Regions from separate parts of the Homo sapiens genome. Here region 2 is linked to region 1. Evidence: promoter capture Hi-C in 16 types of primary human blood cells and fetal thymus (Javierre and others, 2016). All regions are on one chromosome and are shown on one strand. The core of a region is centred on a gene start or on the middle of the fragment in contact, and the rest is flanking DNA. Distances in the headings are between cores, read along the strand shown.

What was found. The method cuts DNA at HindIII sites, captures the fragments that hold promoters and counts their contacts. A CHiCAGO score of 5 or more calls a contact.
Region 2: a contact is called between a fragment that was not itself captured here and the fragment with the promoter of LINC02873 in region 1, in 2 of 17 cell types (M0 macrophages and M1 macrophages). The highest score is 6.4, in M0 macrophages.

The regions. Positions count from the first base shown.
Region 1 is chr11:130,670,333-130,674,683 of GRCh38, reverse strand. It overlaps LINC02873 (long intergenic non-protein coding RNA 2873), which reads right to left and starts at 1,728. Exons shown (of 3, transcript NR_164144.1): 1 at 1,496-1,728. The HindIII fragment of the contact is 8,610 bases long and covers 1-4,351 here.
Region 2 is chr11:130,442,111-130,446,461 of GRCh38, reverse strand. No RefSeq gene overlaps it. Among named protein-coding and RNA genes, the nearest start is that of ADAMTS15, 4.4 kb to the left of the region's middle. The HindIII fragment of the contact is 3,856 bases long and covers 190-4,045 here.

The DNA of each region.
Region 1 (4,351 bases), core at 479-2,978:
CACCACTGCACTCCAGCCTGGGCAATAAAGCCATACTCTGTCTCAAAAATAATAACAATAATACATTAAGAAAAAGAATTGAACCTTGATGCTTACCACACACCATATCTAAACATTAACTTAAAATGGATCATAGGCCTACAACTAAGTGCTAAAACTACAAAAACCCTAGAAGAAAATCTTTGTGACTATGGGTCAGACAGAGTCTTCTTAGATATGACACAGAAAACATGACTTAGAAAAGAGAAAAGCGATAAATTGGACTTCATCAAAATGAAAGGCTTTTAGTCTTTGGAAAACATTGTTAAGAAAATAAGACAAGCTACACATTGGGAGAAAACATGTGTAACACATCCATCTCTGTCCATGTTTGCTCACATTTCAATGTTAACTCTTAGCTTTATAATAAAATGGAAAGGATACCTTTTAACGGGGCATCACACTAACTGAAATAAAATTGGGTTCTGTGACCAAGGCAGAGAAGAGGAACGCACACTGGGTAAGCAACCAAGAGTGTGCTACATGTACAATATAAAATTATAAAAGAAAATAGAATCTCAGCAGGTGGTAGGTAACCAAGCAGGTCCCACAAGTCTGATCCTGTCTGCTGCAAGGTAGTAAGGGCAGAACATCATCTCTGCCCTGGATTCCCATCTGTGCCTAACACAAAGGAGGCCAGGGGAGAGAGCTCATGTGCTGATCTGGAATGCACAGACTACAGAGAAAAGGGCAGAAGAGGAGAGACCACCACGGGTGGAGCTGTCCACAAGGTGTGTGGAGGACATGGTCCTGAACTTGGCCTTCAATGCAAGGGATGTCAGGAAGCCAGAGGAAGGAGAGCAGGCCTTGGACTAGAGCATGGAAACAGGTGTTGGGTGCTACCTTCAAGGACCAAGAAGGCAACATGCCCTACCACAGCAGGAGGGGCATGCTGAGAACAGGAGCTGAAATTTCTCTGAGCCAGGTCAAAGCAGAGGCCGAAAGTGCCAGCCAGGGAATTTGGAGCTTGATGACAAAGTGGACTGGCTCTCCTAGAACCATGGGGTGACTTGATGAAAGTTGATTCATTCAGATCTGCTGCTTCTCCTCCAAACAGGACCCTGGTGATGGACTTTCTCCACACCCACCTTCAGGGAAGATGCACTCATTCATTTCAGCAGAGGAACGTCCCTCTTGCTGCACCAGTCACAGGCATTGGTCATGGAGCACCAGGGCTCTCTACTGCGGAACCTCATGCAGCCTCGCAGGCTTTCTCAGCACAGCACCCAAAAAACATTACCAAGTAGTCAGAACAGGCATTTGGGACACACCCAGCATGGTGGGGGCTGACAAACCCTACCCTTGTTCCCCCAACCCCACCCCCGCCTCCAGGGCCTCCCACTGAACATCTACCCCACCTCCATCGCCACCATCATTTCTCTTCTGCTGTGTGTGTTCTTCAGGCAGCAGCTGTTTTTCCTGTCACTGCATAATATTCATTTAAGCCTGATTTCACCTGGGAAAAATGCTGGAAATAAGCCAGACTCCAGAGTGATGTGGTCATGACCAGATCCCTCCAAGATGACCTGGAAAGCTGAGTCCACCTGAGCTCACAGGACGGCTGGAGCTGGGCCAGAATGGAGAGGCCGCTGGTGGGCCATGCCCCAGTGACCCCAGCCCGAGGGGTGGCAGCCAAGCTGGCGAGGAAGAGACAGAGGAGGACCATGTCAGAAACTCACAAGGACAAGTGAGGGGTCCTGGTGAAAGCATAATGAGTTTAATAACCAGGGACAGCCCTGATCATCCACCATCCAATGGTGTCCCCACCTGATGACTGGCAACCCATTCTATGGGTGGGTTTAAGGGTGGGAGGCTCTTTCATCCTGGAGCCTCTTCAGGTCTCCCAGAGCTGCAGTCGCCTCAGCAAGCAAAGCAGAAGAAAAGAGGCCACTGTGTTTATGGCTGGGGTAGCCGCTCTCATGTGAAAATCAGGGGGTGAAACAAGGTGCTTTTGAAACCTGTTCAAGGCCTCCTTCCCTCCCAGCAAATCATCAGAGGAGAGATTTTGCCTCACGCTTTTCTCTCATGCATGTGTCTGTCCCAGAGTCGCCATGGCAACACTGTGTATGTTTGCACGGCTGGAAGGATCCAGAGATGGAAAACGAGGCCAGGGTGGACCAGAGCAGGGAGTCCAGCAGGAATTCCTCTCTGATCCTCTGCAGGCGATCAGTTAACAGAAAGCTCCCTTGCCCTTCTGAGGTTAGTCATAGAGCCTGCTTCTGCCAACAGCTCACAGGAAAAAATCACAATCCTCAGCAGTGAGTCCTGGGAATGTGCATCAAAGCCTGTTTTCCCCCCAGCAGTTTTATCAGGTAGGGATTTGCCATGACAATTCCCCAGGCCCTGAAGCCCAAGGTGCCAGCACACACATGGCAAGGCAGCCAGTGCCCGGTCACAGGGTGGGTCCGGGAACCACCCCTCACTCGGTGGGAGACAGCAGGTATGTCAGGAAGTGCTCTGCCACGTCTCACCTGTTTCCCTCACGCCTGACACTTCTCTATGCCGCGTGGACTTGGAGAACCAAGCTCTGAAAATCTGTATGAGACCCTTTTTCTAGATGAGACATGCACCTCATGCTGATTCTCCCTCAGAAGACAGCCCCAGTGGGTGTTCTCTGTAATTCCTCAACAGACACAGCCAGCCTTTTAACCACTTCTTTGTCTCTGAATCACCTCCCAACCTTTTCTCAAATTGTGGGAGCCATAAACTGGATGACAGGGAGGATTCAGCCCAGCATGGAGCTCAAGGTGGGGCCAAGAACCGTATAAATGAAACTGATTTTTTGGCAAATCACGTGAACATATGCATATTGACCAGTATTTAAGCCAGTGTCTGACACATATTAGGTGCCCAAAAATATTTATTAAACAAATAAGTAAAGTTCCCATAGATAGCAGAGACATGGAAAGTGGTTCCCACCTAGAAGTTTGGTGAGTTTACTTTCATGGGGTACAGAAAGACTGTTAAATAGGAAGGGATGCTAGTCTAATTGCACTTCAAACCCATCCCTCCTCACTCCACAGCTCTGCCCCTTATATAAACCAATTCTCACAAAAACGTCAGGAGCAGGGAGTTCAATATTTACTTGGCCATGATGCACTTGGTAGATCTCAGTTGGCTGGTAGAGTGTATTTTTCCCACTCTGAGGGCCAAAGATTTTGGCAGATGGCAAATGGAGGTGAAGGGGAGACAGAGTAAGTTATATAAAATACCACTAACTCTCTTCTCCTGTAGGCAGTAAAAACAGCTTCCTAGATTATTAGCACTGAGCCAAAATAAAAATCCACTGAAATATATTTTACAGGATGGAGATACTGTTCTAAAAAGGACGTGAGCACTTTCCTGAATTTATATGCTGCTTTGTTGCTGATCAGTTCTGCAGCAATCCCAGAACTAAGGTCCTTCAGTCATTCAATGAACATCTGTCATCTACAGCGGTCATTCTCAACCAGGGCTATCTTGTTCCTTAAGGGGACATTGATAATATCTGAAGACATTTTTGAGTGTTGCAACTGGGGGAAGGGTGCTAGTGGCATCTTGGGGAGACCAGCTTCTAAACAACTTACAAGGCGCAGAACAGACCCAACCAAAAAGCATCATCTGCCCCAAAATGTTGGGAAAACCTAGAGAGTGACAGAAACACACAGTAGCACAAAGCGAGGCATCTGAGTCCCGGAGCCTCAGAGAAGGCTTATCAGATGGAGTGATGAGTGCACTGAGACATGAAGAAGAATGAGCAGGAAACATAATTAGGAAAGAGGTTCTCGAGCAGAAGGACCTACATAAGCCAAACATGGAGATGAACATTTAAAGAACTGCAAATAGAGCAGACATTCTCTCAACTACCCTTCCCTTATATTAACTCATTTTCAAAAAAGGCCGGTACAGTGGCTCACACATGTAATCCCAGCACTTGGGAGGCCGACACGGGTGGATCACTTGAGGTCGGCAGTTTGAGACCAGCCTGGTCAACATGGTGAAACCCCATCTCTACTAAAAATACAAAAAATTAGCCAGGTGTGGTGGTGGGCACCTGTAATCCCAGCTACTCCGGAGGCTGAGGCAGGAGAATCTCTTGTACCTGAGAGGTGGGGGTTGCAGTGAGCCAAGATTGCTCCACTGCACTCCAGCCTGGGCAACAGAGCAAGACTCTGTCTTAAAAAAAAAAAAAATACTGACGAGTGCACACACAGCACAGGAGCGTGCGAGGCCGGTGAGCCTGTGTACTTCCACTCCAGCGGATGAGTTATATGCTTAGCAAGGGTCAGCTGTATTTGTTCCCAAAACTGTTTATGCCAGACTTAATGTTATT
Region 2 (4,351 bases), core at 868-3,367, 230 kb after region 1:
CGCCCCCTGGGGCCTTGGAACATGAAGATGGCTCAGATGCCCATAATTCCAGTGAGGCCTCTCCTTGATTGGGACACAAGGAGCTGAAATTCATTATGTGAATGAGTGAGAGATGGGTGTTTATACTCTGCAAATGAAAGAGAGTGTATGGGTATGGGAGGACTGTGTGTGAGACAGGGAGTTCAAGCTTACAAAGGCCCTGTGTGTTTGAGCGTTCAAAGAGGGCCTATAATTAAAGAGAAACGCAGACAACCAACAGCAATGATAAGTCATTTATTTGGGGCAAGCAATTGTTTTACTACACCCGGCAGTTTTAAAGGTGGATTGCAAGGTTTTCAACGGCACTTTACTTTCATTCTGACCCATGGGTTTTGGCAAGGGCTGCAGCATGTCAGTCAAGATGGCAGGGACCTGAGACAGGAAGTCCCTCCCACTTAGTGCTCCCCCTGCCCCAATCACAGCCCAGCTATTCTCACCCCTGAGCACAGAAACTGGCCATGTGGATTTGCTCAAAGGGATTAGCATGTATTGCAGGCTTAGTATGTGCTAAACATTGCACCAAGAGTTATATGTGCATTCTCGTATTTAATGCTTGACTGTCCCCTCTTGGAAGCCTGTGGTTCCATCCAATCACTTTTGCCAGGGAATTGAGGATCTAGGGATATGTTGAGCACTTGAGTAGAGGTGATACTCAGGATTGGCACTCCACTTCTATCACTGATCTGATTCTCTGACTCGTCTGTCAAAAGAGAAGGGGTTATCCTAGCTCAGAGGTCTTCAGCCAGAGAACTGCATCCAAAATCTGTGGTCTAGATAATACCTAAGATAACGACCAGGTCAAATATTACATGACTGATTGAGGCCTATGGAAGGGAACATAGTACAGTGATTTAGAGCCCATGGTCAGAGGGCCCTGTGTGCATGCCTCCACCAGATCTTAGCTGTGCAATCTTGGGTAAATTACTGTACCTCTCTAAGCCTCACTTTTCTCATTATTAAAATGGGGATACAAATTCTACCCACTGCCTGGACTAAATGAGTTAATATTATACTTCCAAAGTGTTTGGCAATGCTTGGTATATTTTAAAAGTTCCTTAAATATTATCGAATAGTACTGCTAATATTCTTATGTGCTATTATTATTACTCCTCCTAGTGCTATCAGTCTCTGCTAGGCCCTCCAAGCTGATTGCTGTCATCACCTTCTGAAGTTTTCTGGGGCGTGTCCTCTCCCAGTTCTGCTCGGGAGCTTTCACATTGGCTCCCACGTCCCACTTCCATAACGGGACTCCACAACCGCCATGGAGTTCTCGCTTCTCCTGCCCTCCATGATCTTAACATCCCTGGAAAATAAAAAGCAACTCCCTGTCAATGTATGAAAATGAAAATTTTTTAAAAAGCAGCTCTTCCCCCAGAGGACGACTGGGGGTCTAAGCCATCTGTCAGATCTAAGACCCCCAGCTTGGCCTTTCTGTCCTTCGCCAACTAGGCTGGCCTCTTCACAGCCTCCAGGTCTCAGCCCAAGTACAGCCCCCTCAGAGGGGCCTTCCCAGACCGCCCAATCTGAGAAGTCCCAAGTCACAATCATGATTGCATGTTTTGTCTTGTCCACTAGCATTTACCTCTATCTCTCTATCTAAACCTATTTTGCTCACTTAGATCTTTTTTTTTTTTCTTGACTGACTTCCCTCCGTTAAAATGAGAGCAGGACCTTCCCCATCTCGTTCACTGTTATATCTCCCAGAGCCTGACACAGTGCTGGGCTCACAGGGGCGCTCCAAAGATACTGAGCAAATGAATCAACCCAATTCTAATCCAGCTTGGTCCCTTACAGTCTGTAAAATATTGGACAAGATACTTCATCTCCACAATGAAAATGTGGCTCTCTCATAGAGCGAGTGCCTGACATACTTCTCTCATAATTATGTATTTCTACATCTCTCTGACAAAAACCTTAGCCTGGCACCCTAGTTACCTAGCCCAGTACCCTAGTCACCTAACCCAATACCCCAGTCACCTAGCCTAGTACCCTAGTCACCTAGCCCACTACCTTCATCCCATAGGTGTGGCAGCTGAGGTCCAGAGAAAGGAAGTTACTTGCCTAAGGCTACCCAGCCAGTTTCTCTACTCATCTCATGAAATCGTTTCTCTTTACTCTTCATCTGAAAGCCTGGCCCTAGCTAAATTCATTAGCTTGAGTGCTCCTGCTCAGAAAGTGTTCTTTCAGCATGCGTATTTATGTGAGCCTTTCCTCCCATACAGAATGGCCTCTCAGCCTCATCCATGCCTGCCTATATAACCCTCACTTCCTATAGGAAGCCCCTTGACTTAACTCACACAGCTCTGGTTGCTCTTTTTTGTTAGTTCCTCTGGCATATATGCATCCCATTTCCAGCATAGGCAGAGTCCATTTGAACTCGCTTGCCCTTTGCTAATTGTGTGTTCATCCCTTTTCCCGAGACTGGGCTGCAGCCACACTTGTCTGGAAACTCATCAAAAGGAGGGCTTCCTTTCCTATTATACTAGTCTCCATGACAGTCCCCAGAGGAGGTGTTAACTTCCTGGTCAAGCCAGCTGGATGCGGCAGGTTCCAGGTAGAAGATCAACTCAAAAAGGTAACTCACAGAGGCCAGAAGGAGGCAGCCACAAGGATTAGGTTTGGATTTCACTTCTTTTTTTTTTTTTTTTTTTTTTTTTTGAGACAGAGTCTTGCTCTGTCGCCCAGGCTAGAGTGCAGTGGCGCAATCTCAGCTCACTGCAACCTCCGCCCCCTGGGTTCAAGCGATTCTTCTGCCTCAGCCTCTCAAGTAGCTGGGATTACAGGTGCCCGCCACCATGCCCAGCTAATTTTTGTATTTTTAGTAAAGACGGGGTTTCACCATCTTGGCCAGGCTGGTCTCGAACTCCTAACCTTGTGATCCACTCGCCTTGGCCTCCCAAAGTGCTGGGATTACAGGCATGAGCCATCGCGCCCGGCAGATTTCTTCATCACGGGATGAAGTCATCACAGAAGTCATCACAGGATGACTTCTGCCTACCTGTGAAATTGGGCATCCTGGAGGATCTCTTCAAAACAGGAGAAAATAATTAAGGAGAAAAACGGGGTGGAGGGACAAGCACTATGATCTGGGCAAGATTTTAATGGGCAGGGAAATGACTTAGGAAAGTCTCCCAATTCCCCAGATTAGCTATTCTAAATCATTGGCCTACCATGTTAGGACTTAAATCGGTTTTTACACAGCAGCATGAAAACAGATGTACAAATTTATCATGTTTTGAGCTTAGGACTTGATCATTCTTTACCAAAGATCCCTAAAAATCCCAGATGCGTTTAATCTGCTCCTCTTGGAATCTGTGCCACAGAGGTGGGCAAAGCAGGCAAAGTATAGAAAGGCACAGGCTTCAGGAAGCCCCCGGGAAGGCCCAGCGAGTGTTAAATGACTGAGCTGCCATCATCCACTGGCTTCCACAACTGCTGGAGCTCTTGGCTGGTCTTCTCCCAGATGCAGAGACAGCTGAAGCAGCTGGAGATTCATCTAAGGCCCCATGAATTACAGCCCTGGCCTGAGTTCATTCTTCATTACTCAGAGGAAATATTTAACTCTGTTTTTTCCCTCTCAGCCACCCACTCTGTTTTTGACTCTGGGGCTAAGCGTTTAAGTAGAAGTCTCTCTGGTGCTAACTCCTGTATTTGTTCTCTTGGATGCTAGGAAATTAGAGCAAAGGGTCTTGATGTGGCTTGGACAAACTCAACAAACAATAGTTCCAGGCTGCCTCCTTTCACCCTGAATCCCCCTTAGACAGTCTTAAATAACAGCTACCCCCCTGAAATCTAGGGCTCCCTGATTCAATCATTTATTTTATAGATTTACACACACGCCCCAGGACAAATTACTTTGGAGCTCTTGGCTATTCTGCGTATAGCTGCACCTTTAGCTTTTAGGCTGGTTGAAGGAGAATGCCTAAAATAGAGATGAGATGGATGCTAAATCCTCAACTCCTATCTAGGGATTTAGAAAGCAATTAGTTTTTCCTGCCAAAAAGCTTCTATCTCCTCTACTCTTCCCAGTATGCCCCTTTTCCCACCGTCAACAAAGAGTAGCTTCAAGATTGAGCTTGACCTTGAGCCTCAGGCCTCCACCCCATCTCTAGCAAAGGACCACCTCCGGGCTCCTGCAACCCAGATGAGGTCCCAACACAAAATTGATTGCTCTCCCAGGTAGCATGGTTTCTTCCATTAGCTCATCCTCCCTCCTAATAAAAATACTTGACATATACAAAATACCATATGACTTGTAAATAAGTTGATATATATTATCATTCCATCCTTACAAAAATACTCAGGGAGGGGA